Linked DNA regions of Homo sapiens: region 2 is linked to region 1. Evidence: promoter capture Hi-C in human tissues and cell types (Jung and others, 2019). All regions are on one chromosome and are shown on one strand. Each heading gives the region's core, a stretch centred on a gene start or on the middle of the fragment in contact. The rest is flanking DNA. Distances are from core to core; before and after follow the strand shown.

Region 1 (6,893 bases), core at 1,188-3,687:
AGATTAAAAGGTTGAAATTTATGATATGTGAATTATATCCCAAAAAAGGTGGTTTATTTTCAGAACCATGACTTACCTTCTAGGCAATGCTTTTGACAGAGGTGTAGTATTTCTACCTTTAAAAGCCACTAGTAAGTGGCTTCTAACTCATTTTTATCAAACATTATCAAGTACTTTCTTTGTGTAAAATGCTGTGATAGATTGTATGAAATATTTATCAAAATAAGTTTGCAGTAATTATATAGTGTACTAAGAATGTATTATATGCCAGGCAGGTACTAAGCAATTTCATATGTTAAGTAATTGCCACCTGTTAGGTAAGTGTTATTGTTCCCATTCTATAATTTGGGAGACTGAGGCTGAGAAGATTAGATAATTGTACAAGAAATGCAGTAAGAGGCAAAATTGAGATTAGAACTTAGGTCTTTCTGACTATAATTTTATCCATTATGCTAAGCAAGTAGAAGAGGAAGAGAGACCTAAATGCAAAGAATACAAAAGACTGAATAATGGAGTTCTGAACTATGGAGGAGTTTCAGAGTTCTCAACTATAATGCTGGAGTGACAGTGCAAAAATGCTTTAAAATTCTGTCTCAGTGTGGAGTCTGGGGCCTGAAAGTCTTTCTGACACAGCAGCCATCTTAACAAAAATGCACTTCCAAAAGATGCATATGATTGAAAATGACCATAGTATCCAACAGCAACCATAACTTTCTGTGTGGTTGTTTTGGTCTAGGATTCCTTGGCTATGTGAGCAATTGACATATTTCAAGGGCCTATTCATTAACATTTTATGAACAGACACTCATTCTTAGTGTTTACCAAGCTCTAGGTGCTGCCTAGATGGTGGAATGAATAAGATATGATGACTGGCCCAAAGCAATGCCCAGATAGGAGTTTATTGACTCCATATATGTAGAATATATATGGTTAAGTGCTAGGCTTTAGCATCGGCTAGCATGTGTATCTGTTCTAGTGCTGCTACTAACTAGCTGCGATTTGTAACAAATGTTTACATTGCTCTATGCTTTTATTACCTTATCTATAAAATGGGGTTATTTTGAGGAATAAATAGATAAGCATGTAAACCTACCATGTATAGAAGATAGTAAGCACTTAGCACTTAATGGTAGCTGCTATCCTCCTCATCATCATCATTATCACCTGGTAGCAAAGTACAGCAGAATTGGCTCTCCATGCTTAAGACTTACAGCTCTCTGATTATTTTTGTTACCCTCAAGTGTATTTGATATACTTTCTGTACATAAGTGAACATTTTCCCAAGGGTCCAGGCCCTAAACATGCCAGACTACCAGTGGATCGCAGAGTGCTGGAAGAAAGCTCACTCTAAATTCACCCTGAACATATCTGAAAACATTATTTTTATATATAGCCAATTACACTTTTCTAGCCTAGAAATGAGCCTTCACAAGGTCAGAGAATGTTTCCTCTCTTCCTAACAGCACTCTGTATGTTACTTTTTTATATTATTTGCGTTTGAGTGGGCCTTACACTCCTAAAATGGTGCATAATTTTTGCATGATAGTTATATATGATAAATACACAGAGGTAAGTTAGTATAATGGTAAACAGCAATTGCAATAAGGTAGATACAGGTTCAACTTCTGGTTTCTCTGCCTACTAGCTATGACCTTGGAGAAGATCCTTATGCTTCCAGAACCTGTCTCTATAAAATGGGATAATAAATACATATCTCGTATGAAGGTTGTGAAGATTAAATGAGGTGATAAGATCTAGTATTTGGTAACATAATATGGTAACTATAGTTAACTATTTATTGTATATTTTTAAATAACTAAAATAGTAGAATTAGAATGTTCCTACTACAAAGAAATGCTTGAGGTGCTGGATACCCCAATTACTGTAATTTGATCATTACACATGGTATGCCCATATCAAAACATCACATGTACCCAACAATTATATACAACTATGTACCCATAACTAAAAGTGCAGATTTTTTAAAGATTGAGATGGTTTGTTTAAAGTATTTAGCACATAGTAAATTCTCAATAAATGTCACTTTTTATTATTACAAAAAAGACATGAATTAGATGAACCTAGTGGCTCAGGTTCATTTTCAATTAAATAAGCATTTATTGTGCACCTTCCAAGTATCTTACACTCTGCTACTTTCTGTGGGTACTAGTTAAAAGAAATGTATAACATGAGTCCTCTAAAACAAAGTCTGTGCTTTTCACATGTATATGACCCTGAAAAAAAAGGTATCTTGCAACCATGTCCTCGTACTGGAAGGTGGGGCTGGTACTAGCCTTTCTGCAATCATCTGTAGATAACAATGTGAAGGAGGAAGGTAAATATGTAGAGGTGGAGTTAGGTTTGATGGAAAATGAATCACCTCATTCACTATAATCACTATAAGCTATATAAGGGTCATTATCCCAATCCATCGTCACCCTGCAAGCTGCATCAGGCTTTATCCTACTTGTTCCTTTGGTGAACCAGGTGAGAGAAAATTCATCCAGCTACATTTATGAATATTTGGTGTTGTCCATAGTAGAAGTCTAGGGATATAAGCTAAGGCAGAGTTCATGTATATTTTGCCTTTCTTTTCTTTTTTGTTTCTTTCTTTCATTTTCTTTTCTTTTTGTTTGCTTATTTGTTTGGTTAGTTTAGTTTATTCTGGGGCCTTTTTGTAGTTAAGTTCATTTTTATGGAGAAGAATAATGCAAGTAAAAGTTCACCTTCCTCTAGGCCATTCCACAGTCTGTTCCGAGTCTTTTTCCATGCCCTCTTTTCTGGGCTGTCCAGCTCAAACTGGGAGGCAGCTGGGTCTGTTGCAGAGTCCCTTCCTTATTCAGTGTTGGTTCCCAGAGCTCCAAGATCTAATTATCCACTAGTTAAACTGCTGCCTGCATTGCTGAGCTCTTCTTCTTGATTAATTAAAGAAAACAGTGTTTGGTCAAGTGCTTGACATTAAGAGAGTTCCTAAGCTCTACTGAGTTCTACTGTCTCATGCCTATGAAACACCAAGCTATTTTGAGCCCCTTTGCCCATTTTTAATTTGCTGAAGGCCTTAAGGGTCCAGTTTAGCTTCTGGTGCCCAGAGGATAAACAGATGTGCATGGTGGAAGGTCTGTCACTTTTGACTCAAGAAAAGCAGTGAAACTAGAAAGAGAGATTGAGGCAATGGTGTCTGGCTGGTTCTGGAAATTTTGGAAGCCTTAGAACAACACCCAGAATGCCAACACACTCAAAGTGTAGAGATACTATGTAGAGACTATACTTACCCATGACAGGAAATATAGAGACTTGAGGTCTATTCTCAGTTGAACCAGTAACATGCCAAGACTTGATCACAGAAAAGTAACTCAAAGTTAACAAAGTTAATTTTCATTGTGTTAAACGGGGTTGTATCATCCCTGGCCCATTCTTACGTTTTGAGATTTAAAAAACAAGAGGTTAAAAAAATCATGCTGGTTATTATTAAAATGAAAATTGCTGATAAAAGGAGAGAATATGAATAATAGGGTTCTTTGTTTTTCTGTGTCCAGGTTCACTTAAACTTGCAAAAAGATGACCGACCTCTTGAGAAGTGTTGTCACCGTAATTGATGTTTTCTACAAATACACCAAGCAAGATGGGGAGTGTGGCACACTGAGCAAGGGTGAACTAAAGGAACTTCTGGAGAAAGAGCTTCATCCAGTTCTGAAGGTGAGAGCCATGTGCCAGAACTGAAGGCTGCTGGAGTCCTGTACAAGCTCTGTTGTATGACCCAGATCAGCTAAAAAGTGCACAGCCCCAGTGAACTCTAAGCAAACTCTATGAGTGGTATTTTGGGGATGCCAGAAAGTCTGTTAAAGCAGCAGATATTTTAAAGAAAGTGAATGTTTCGTCCTCACTTTTCCACCTATGCACTCCTACCTCATAGACTCTCAGACTTTCTCATACACCCAGGCTTTTCCTTAGAAAAAGCAGAAAATAAAATTATACTAGGACACGAATTAATAAATTATCCTATCAAATGGAAAAAAAAGTATAGAAAGGGAAATCATCTACATAGGGAGTTGACAAAATAGCCATGATTAAGAATCAAAAATAAAATGCCAGCATTTTATTCCATCTACTTAAAAAGGACTCAGCTAGGCGCGGTGGCTCATGCCTGTAATCCCAGCACTTTGGGAGGCCGAAGTGGGTGAATCACAAGGTAAGGAGATCAAGACCATCCTGGCTAATACGGTGAAACCCCATCTCTACTAAAAATACAAAAAATTAGCCGGGCGTGGTTGCATGCCCCTGTAGTCCCAGCTACTCGGGAGGCTGAGGCAGGAGAATGGCGTGAACCTGGGAGGCAGAGCTTGCAGTGAGCAGAGATCGCACCACTGCACTCCAGCCTGGGCTACAGAGCAAGACTCCATCTCAAAAAAAAAAAAAAGACTCAGTTATTAACTTCAAAATAATAGATGATAAATTCCAACATGGAAGATATTAACATGTAATAGTTACAATTTATGTAAAACTTAGAAATACCAGTTACTGAACTTAGTTTATTCCACTCCTTCCTGTAGGCCTTACCTAAGCACTTAATCCTTTAGCCTAAATCCTTGAAATGTCTTCTTCTGAGGATCCCAGTAGTCTTTATTTTCTATTAACCCTTAACATTTACTGGGTTCTATTAACCTAAAGTAATCCTTTATTGGACTAAAACTACATCATGTCAAACATCCATAATTTCACAGCGCTATTTAAATGTGTTAGTTGAGTATGCAGGTTAGGCTGACCAGGTCTCCCTTGGTGTGTCACTCATATACAGAACCCAGATGATCCAGACACAGTGGATGTCATCATGCATATGCTGGATCGAGATCATGACAGAAGATTGGACTTTACTGAGTTTCTTTTGATGATATTCAAGCTGACTATGGCCTGCAACAAGGTCCTCAGCAAAGAATACTGCAAAGCTTCAGGGTCAAAGAAGCATAGGCGTGGTCACCGACACCAAGAAGAAGAAAGTGAAACAGAAGAGGATGAAGAGGATACACCAGGACATAAATCAGGTTACAGACATTCAAGTTGGAGTGAGGGAGAGGAGCATGGATATAGTTCTGGGCACTCAAGGGGAACTGTGAAATGTAGACATGGGTCCAACTCCAGGAGGCTAGGAAGACAAGGTAATTTATCCAGCTCTGGGAACCAAGAGGGATCTCAGAAAAGATACCACAGGTCCAGCTGTGGTCATTCATGGAGTGGTGGCAAAGACAGACATGGTTCCAGCTCTGTAGAACTGAGAGAAAGAATAAACAAGTCACACATTAGCCCTTCTAGGGAATCTGGGGAGGAGTATGAATCTGGATCTGGATCAAACAGTTGGGAAAGGAAAGGTCATGGTGGTCTGTCATGTGGATTGGAGACTAGTGGGCATGAATCAAACTCTACTCAGTCAAGAATTAGAGAACAAAAGCTTGGGTCTAGCTGTTCAGGTTCAGGAGACAGTGGGAGGCGAAGTCATGCATGTGGTTATAGCAATTCAAGTGGGTGTGGAAGGCCACAAAATGCTTCAAGTTCTTGTCAGTCACATAGATTTGGAGGGCAAGGAAATCAATTTAGCTATATTCAGTCAGGCTGTCAGTCAGGAATTAAGGGAGGACAAGGCCATGGCTGTGTCTCAGGAGGTCAGCCCTCTGGATGTGGTCAACCTGAGTCTAACCCCTGTAGTCAGTCCTATAGTCAGAGAGGATATGGAGCTAGAGAAAATGGTCAACCACAGAACTGTGGAGGACAATGGAGAACAGGCTCAAGTCAGTCCTCTTGCTGTGGACAATATGGGTCTGGAGGTAGCCAGTCTTGTAGTAATGGTCAACATGAATATGGTTCCTGTGGCCGCTTTTCAAACTCTTCTAGTTCAAATGAATTTTCCAAATGTGATCAATATGGGTCTGGTTCAAGTCAGTCTACTAGCTTTGAACAACATGGAACAGGCTTGAGTCAGTCCTCTGGGTTCGAACAACATGTATGTGGCTCAGGTCAAACTTGTGGCCAGCATGAGTCTACATCAAGTCAATCCTTGGGCTATGACCAGCATGGGTCTAGCTCAGGTAAGACATCTGGCTTTGGACAACATGGGTCTGGCTCAGGTCAGTCCTCTGGCTTTGGACAATGTGGGTCAGGCTCAGGTCAGTCCTCTGGCTTTGGACAGCATGGGTCTGTCTCAGGACAATCCTCTGGTTTTGGACAGCATGGGTCTGTCTCAGGACAATCCTCTGGTTTTGGACAACATGAGTCTAGATCACGTCAGTCTAGCTATGGCCAACATGGTTCTGGCTCAAGTCAATCATCTGGCTATGGCCAATATGGGTCTAGAGAGACATCTGGCTTTGGACAACATGGGTTGGGCTCAGGTCAATCCACTGGCTTTGGCCAATATGGATCGGGCTCAGGTCAGTCCTCTGGCTTTGGACAACATGGGTCTGGCTCAGGACAATCCTCTGGCTTTGGACAACATGAGTCTAGATCAGGTCAGTCTAGTTATGGCCAACACAGTTCTGGCTCAAGTCAGTCATCTGGCTATGGCCAACATGGGTCTAGACAGACATCTGGCTTTGGACAACATGGGTCAGGCTCAAGTCAATCCACTGGCTTTGGCCAATATGGATCAGGCTCAGGTCAGTCCTCTGGCTTTGGACAACATGTTTCTGGCTCAGGACAATCCTCTGGTTTTGGACAACATGAGTCTAGATCAGGTCATTCTAGCTATGGCCAACATGGTTTTGGCTCAAGTCAATCATCTGGCTATGGTCAACATGGGTCAAGTTCAGGACAGACATCTGGATTTGGACAACACGAGTTAAGCTCAGGTCAGTCTTCCAGCTTTGGCCAACATGGATCAGGCTCAGGTCAGTCCTCTGGCTTTG
Region 2 (6,893 bases), core at 826-3,325, 50 kb after region 1:
AGTCAGAGACAGTGGACACTGGGGGTCCAGTGGTAGTCAGGCCAGTGATAGTGAGGGACATTCAGAGGAGTCAGACACACAGTCAGTGTCAGGCCATGGACAGGATGGGCCCCATCAGCAGAGCCACCAAGAGTCCGCACGTGACTGGTCAGGGGGAAGGTCTGGACGTTCAGGGTCTTTCATCTACCAGGTGAGCACTCATGAACAGTCTGAGTCTGCCCATGGGCGGACCAGGACCAGCACTGGACGAAGACAAGGATCCCACCACGAGCAGGCACGAGACAGCTCCAGGCACTCAGCGTCCCAAGAGGGTCAGGACACCATTCGTGCACACCCGGGGTCAAGGAGAGGAGGAAGGCAGGGATCCCACCATGAGCAATCGGTAGATAGATCTGGACACTCAGGGTCCCATCACAGCCACACCACATCCCAGGGAAGGTCTGATGCCTCCCATGGGCAGTCAGGATCCAGAAGTGCAAGCAGACAAACTCGTAAGGACAAACAATCAGGAGACGGCTCCAGGCACTCAGGGTCACGTCACCATGAAGCTGCCTCTTGGGCTGACAGCTCTAGACACTCACAGGTGGGACAGGAACAATCATCGGGGTCCAGGACAAGCAGGCACCAGGGATCCAGTGTTAGCCAGGACAGTGACAGTGAGAGACACTCAGACGACTCCGAGAGGTTGTCTGGGTCTGCTTCCAGAAACCATCATGGATCTTCTCGGGAGCAGTCAAGAGATGGCTCCAGACACCCTGGGTTCCATCAAGAAGACAGAGCCAGTCACGGGCACTCTGCAGACAGCTCCAGACAATCAGGCACTCATCACACAGAGTCTTCCTCTCATGGACAGGCTGTGTCATCCCATGAACAGGCAAGATCAAGTCCAGGAGAAAGACATGGATCCCGCCACCAGCAGTCAGCAGACAGCTCCAGACACTCAGGCATTGGGCACAGACAAGCTTCATCTGCAGTCAGAGACAGTGGACACCGAGGGTCCAGTGGTAGTCAGGTCACTAACAGTGAGGGACATTCAGAAGACTCAGACACACAGTCAGTGTCAGCCCACGGACAAGCTGGGCCCCATCAGCAGAGCCACAAAGAGTCCGCACGTGGCCAGTCAGGGGAAAGCTCTGGACGTTCAAGGTCTTTCCTCTACCAGGTGAGCTCTCATGAACAGTCTGAGTCCACACACGGACAGACTGCACCCAGCACTGGAGGAAGACAAGGATCCCGCCATGAGCAGGCACGAAACAGCTCTAGGCACTCAGCATCCCAAGACGGTCAGGACACCATTCGTGGACACCCGGGGTCAAGCAGAGGAGGAAGGCAGGGATCCTACCACGAGCAATCAGTAGATAGGTCTGGACACTCAGGGTACCATCACAGCCACACCACACCCCAGGGAAGGTCTGATGCCTCCCATGGGCAGTCAGGACCCAGAAGTGCAAGCAGGCAAACAAGAAATGAGGAACAATCAGGAGACGGCTCCAGGCACTCAGGGTCACGTCACCATGAACCTTCCACTCGGGCCGGCAGCTCTAGACACTCACAGGTGGGCCAGGGAGAATCAGCGGGGTCCAAGACAAGCAGGCGCCAGGGATCCAGTGTTAGTCAGGACAGGGACAGTGAGGGACACTCAGAAGACTCTGAGAGGCGGTCTGAGTCGGCTTCCAGAAACCATTATGGATCTGCTCGGGAGCAGTCAAGACATGGCTCCAGGAACCCCAGGTCCCATCAAGAAGATAGAGCCAGTCATGGGCACTCTGCAGAGAGCTCCAGACAATCAGGCACTCGTCATGCAGAGACTTCCTCTGGTGGACAGGCTGCATCATCCCAGGAACAGGCAAGGTCAAGTCCAGGAGAAAGACATGGATCCCGCCACCAGCAGTCAGCAGACAGCTCCACAGACTCAGGCACTGGGCGCAGACAAGATTCATCTGTAGTCGGAGACAGTGGAAACCGAGGGTCCAGTGGTAGCCAGGCCAGTGACAGCGAGGGACACTCAGAAGAGTCAGACACACAGTCAGTGTCAGCCCACGGACAGGCTGGGCCCCATCAGCAGAGCCACCAAGAGTCCACACGTGGCCAGTCAGGGGAAAGGTCTGGACGTTCAGGGTCTTTCCTCTACCAGGTGAGCACTCATGAACAGTCTGAGTCCGCCCATGGACGCACAGGGCCCAGCACTGGAGGAAGACAAAGATCCCGCCACGAGCAGGCACGAGACAGCTCCAGGCACTCAGCGTCCCAAGAGGGTCAGGACACCATTCGTGGACACCCAGGGTCAAGCAGAGGAGGAAGGCAGGGATCCCACTATGAGCAATCGGTAGATAGTTCTGGACACTCAGGGTCTCATCACAGCCACACCACGTCCCAGGAAAGGTCTGATGTCTCCCGTGGGCAGTCAGGATCCAGAAGTGTCAGCAGACAAACACGTAATGAGAAACAATCAGGAGACGGCTCCAGGCACTCAGGGTCGCGTCACCATGAAGCTTCCTCTCGGGCCGACAGCTCTAGACACTCGCAGGTGGGCCAGGGACAATCATCAGGGCCCAGGACAAGCAGGAACCAGGGATCCAGTGTTAGCCAGGACAGTGACAGTCAGGGACACTCAGAAGACTCTGAGAGGTGGTCTGGGTCTGCTTCCAGAAACCATCTTGGATCTGCTTGGGAGCAGTCAAGAGATGGCTCCAGACACCCTGGGTCCCATCACGAAGACAGAGCCGGTCACGGGCACTCTGCAGACAGCTCCAGACAATCAGGCACTCGTCACACAGAGTCTTCCTCTCGTGGACAGGCTGCGTCATCCCATGAACAGGCAAGATCAAGTGCAGGAGAAAGACATGGATCCCACCACCAGCTCCAGTCAGCAGACAGCTCCAGACACTCAGGCATTGGGCATGGACAAGCTTCATCTGCAGTCAGAGACAGTGGACACCGAGGGTACAGTGGTAGTCAGGCCAGTGACAGTGAGGGACATTCAGAAGACTCAGACACACAGTCAGTGTCAGCACAGGGAAAAGCTGGGCCCCATCAGCAGAGCCACAAAGAGTCCGCACGTGGCCAGTCAGGGGAAAGCTCTGGACGTTCAGGGTCTTTCCTCTACCAGGTGAGCACTCATGAACAGTCTGAGTCCACCCATGGACAGTCTGCGCCCAGCACTGGAGGAAGACAAGGATCCCATTATGATCAGGCACAAGACAGCTCCAGGCACTCAGCATCCCAAGAGGGTCAGGACACCATTCGTGGACACCCGGGGCCAAGCAGAGGAGGAAGACAGGGGTCCCACCAAGAGCAATCGGTAGATAGGTCTGGACACTCAGGGTCTCATCACAGCCACACCACATCCCAGGGAAGGTCTGATGCCTCCCGTGGGCAGTCAGGATCCAGAAGTGCAAGCAGAAAAACATATGACAAGGAACAATCAGGAGATGGCTCTAGGCACTCAGGGTCGCATCATCATGAAGCTTCCTCTTGGGCCGACAGCTCTAGACACTCACTGGTGGGCCAGGGACAATCATCAGGGCCCAGGACAAGCAGGCCCCGGGGATCCAGTGTTAGCCAGGACAGTGACAGTGAGGGACACTCAGAAGATTCTGAGAGGCGGTCTGGGTCTGCGTCCAGAAACCATCATGGATCTGCTCAGGAGCAGTCAAGAGATGGCTCCAGACACCCCAGGTCCCATCACGAAGACAGAGCCGGTCATGGGCACTCTGCAGAGAGCTCCAGACAATCAGGCACTCATCATGCAGAGAATTCCTCTGGTGGACAGGCTGCATCATCCCATGAACAGGCAAGATCAAGTGCAGGAGAGAGACACGGATCCCACCACCAGCAGTCAGCAGACAGCTCCAGACACTCAGGCATTGGGCACGGACAAGCTTCATCTGCAGTCAGAGACAGTGGACACCGAGGGTCCAGTGGTAGTCAGGCCAGTGACAGTGAGGGACATTCAGAAGACTCAGACACACAGTCAGTGTCAGCCCACGGACAGGCTGGGCCCCATCAGCAGAGCCACCAAGAGTCCACACGTGGCCGGTCAGCAGGAAGGTCTGGACGTTCAGGGTCTTTCCTCTACCAGGTGAGCACTCATGAACAGTCTGAGTCCGCCCATGGACGGACCGGGACCAGCACTGGAGGAAGACAAGGATCCCACCACAAGCAGGCACGAGACAGCTCCAGGCACTCAACGTCCCAAGAGGGTCAGGACACCATTCATGGACACCCGGGGTCAAGCAGTGGAGGAAGGCAGGGATCCCACTACGAGCAATTGGTAGATAGATCTGGACACTCAGGGTCTCATCACAGCCACACCACATCCCAGGGAAGGTCTGATGCCTCCCATGGGCACTCAGGATCCAGAAGTGCAAGCAGACAAACTCGTAACGATGAACAATCAGGAGACGGCTCCAGGCACTCAGGGTCGCGTCACCATGAAGCTTCCTCTCGGGCCGACAGCTCTGGACACTCGCAGGTGGGCCAGGGACAATCAGAGGGGCCCAGGACAAGCAGGAACTGGGGATCCAGTTTTAGCCAGGACAGTGACAGTCAGGGACACTCAGAAGACTCTGAGAGGTGGTCTGGGTCTGCTTCCAGAAACCATCATGGATCTGCTCAGGAGCAGCTAAGAGATGGCTCCAGACACCCCAGGTCCCATCAAGAAGACAGAGCTGGTCATGGGCACTCTGCAGACAGCTCCAGACAATCAGGCACTCGTCACACACAGACTTCCTCTGGTGGACAGGCTGCATCATCCCATGAACAGGCAAGATCAAGTGCAGGAGAAAGACATGGATCCCACCACCAGCAGTCAGCAGACAGCTCCAGACACTCAGGCATTGGGCACGGACAAGCTTCATCTGCAGTCAGAGACAGTGGACACCGAGGGTACAGTGGTAGTCAGGCCAGTGACAATGAGGGACATTCAGAAGACTCAGACACACAGTCAGTGTCAGCCCACGGACAGGCTGGGTCCCATCAGCAGAGCCACCAAGAGTCCGCACGTGGCCGGTCAGGGGAAACGTCTGGACATTCAGGATCTTTCCTCTACCAGGTGAGCACTCATGAACAGTCTGAGTCCTCCCATGGATGGACGGGGCCCAGCACTAGAGGAAGACAAGGATCCCGCCATGAGCAGGCACAAGACAGCTCCAGGCACTCAGCATCCCAAGACGGTCAGGACACCATTCGTGGACACCCGGGGTCAAGCAGAGGAGGAAGGCAGGGGTACCACCACGAGCATTCGGTAGATAGCTCTGGACACTCAGGGTCCCATCACAGCCACACCACATCCCAGGGAAGGTCTGATGCCTCCCGTGGGCAGTCAGGATCCAGAAGTGCAAGCAGAACAACACGTAATGAGGAACAATCAGGAGACGGCTCCAGGCACTCAGGGTCGCGTCACCATGAAGCTTCCACTCATGCCGACATCTCTAGACACTCACAGGCAGTCCAGGGACAATCAGAGGGGTCCAGGAGAAGCAGGCGCCAGGGATCCAGTGTGAGCCAGGACAGTGACAGTGAGGGACATTCAGAAGACTCTGAGAGGTGGTCTGGGTCTGCTTCCAGAAACCATCATGGATCTGCTCAGGAGCAGCTAAGAGATGGCTCCAGACACCCCAGGTCCCATCAAGAAGACAGAGCTGGTCATGGGCACTCTGCAGACAGCTCCAGACAATCAGGCACTCGTCACACACAGACTTCCTCTGGTGGACAGGCTGCATCATCCCATGAACAGGCAAGATCAAGTGCAGGAGAAAGACATGGATCCCACCACCAGCAGTCAGCAGACAGCTCCAGACACTCAGGCATTGGGCACGGACAAGCTTCATCTGCAGTCAGAGACAGTGGACACCGAGGGTACAGTGGTAGTCAGGCCAGTGACAATGAGGGACATTCAGAAGACTCAGACACACAGTCAGTGTCAGCCCACGGACAGGCTGGGTCCCATCAGCAGAGCCACCAAGAGTCCGCACGTGGCCGGTCAGGGGAAACGTCTGGACATTCAGGATCTTTCCTCTACCAGGTGAGCACTCATGAACAGTCTGAGTCCTCCCATGGATGGACGGGGCCCAGCACTAGAGGAAGACAAGGATCCCGCCATGAGCAGGCACAAGACAGCTCCAGGCACTCAGCATCCCAATACGGTCAGGACACCATTCGTGGACACCCGGGGTCAAGCAGAGGAGGAAGGCAGGGGTACCACCACGAGCATTCGGTAGATAGCTCTGGACACTCAGGGTCCCATCACAGCCACACCACATCCCAGGGAAGGTCTGATGCCTCCCGTGGGCAGTCAGGATCCAGAAGTGCAAGCAGAACAACACGTAATGAGGAACAATCAGGAGACAGCTCCAGGCACTCAGTGTCACGTCACCATGAAGCTTCCACTCATGCCGACATCTCTAGACACTCACAGGCAGTCCAGGGACAATCAGAGGGGTCCAGGAGAAGCAGGCGCCAGGGATCCAGTGTGAGCCAGGACAGTGACAGTGAGGGACATTCAGAAGACTCTGAGAGGTGGTCTGGGTCTGCTTCCAGAAACCATCGTGGATCTGTTCAGGAGCAGTCAAGGCACGGCTCCAGACACCCCAGGTCCCATCACGAAGACAGAGCCGGTCACGGGCACTCTGCAGACCGCTCCAGACAATCAGGCACTCGTCACGCAGAGACTTCCTCTGGTGGACAGGCTGCATCATCCCATGAACAGGCAAGATCAAGTCCAGGAGAGAGACACGGATCCCGCCACCAGCAGTCAGCAGACAGCTCCAGACACTCAGGCATTCCGCGTGGACAAGCTTCATCTGCAGTCAGAGACAGTAGACACTGGGGGTCCAGTGGTAGTCAGGCCAGTGATAGTGAGGGACATTCAGAAGAGTCAGACACACAGTCAG

Evidence for each region. Contacts are between HindIII fragments. The study calls those that stand out against the background at their distance.
Region 2: a fragment that was not itself captured here is called in contact with the fragment with the promoter of FLG2 in region 1 in 4 of the 25 tissues and cell types used here (bladder, dorsolateral prefrontal cortex, spleen and 1 more).

What each region holds. Positions count from the first base shown.
Region 1 is chr1:152,355,550-152,362,442 of GRCh38, reverse strand. It overlaps FLG2 (filaggrin 2), which reads left to right and starts at 2,437. Exons shown (of 3, transcript NM_001014342.3): 1 at 2,437-2,487; 2 at 3,537-3,696; 3 at 4,796-6,893. The coding sequence starts at 3,559. All of the region lies in intron 7 of CCDST (cervical cancer associated DHX9 suppressive transcript), which reads right to left. The HindIII fragment of the contact is 6,746 bases long and covers 1-5,193 here.
Region 2 is chr1:152,304,823-152,311,715 of GRCh38, reverse strand. FLG (filaggrin) reads left to right here. Exons shown (of 3, transcript NM_002016.2): 3 at 1-6,893. The region is part of intron 3 of CCDST (cervical cancer associated DHX9 suppressive transcript); the gene reads right to left. Among named protein-coding and RNA genes, the nearest start is that of FLG, 17 kb to the left of the region's middle. The HindIII fragment of the contact is 3,198 bases long and covers 477-3,674 here.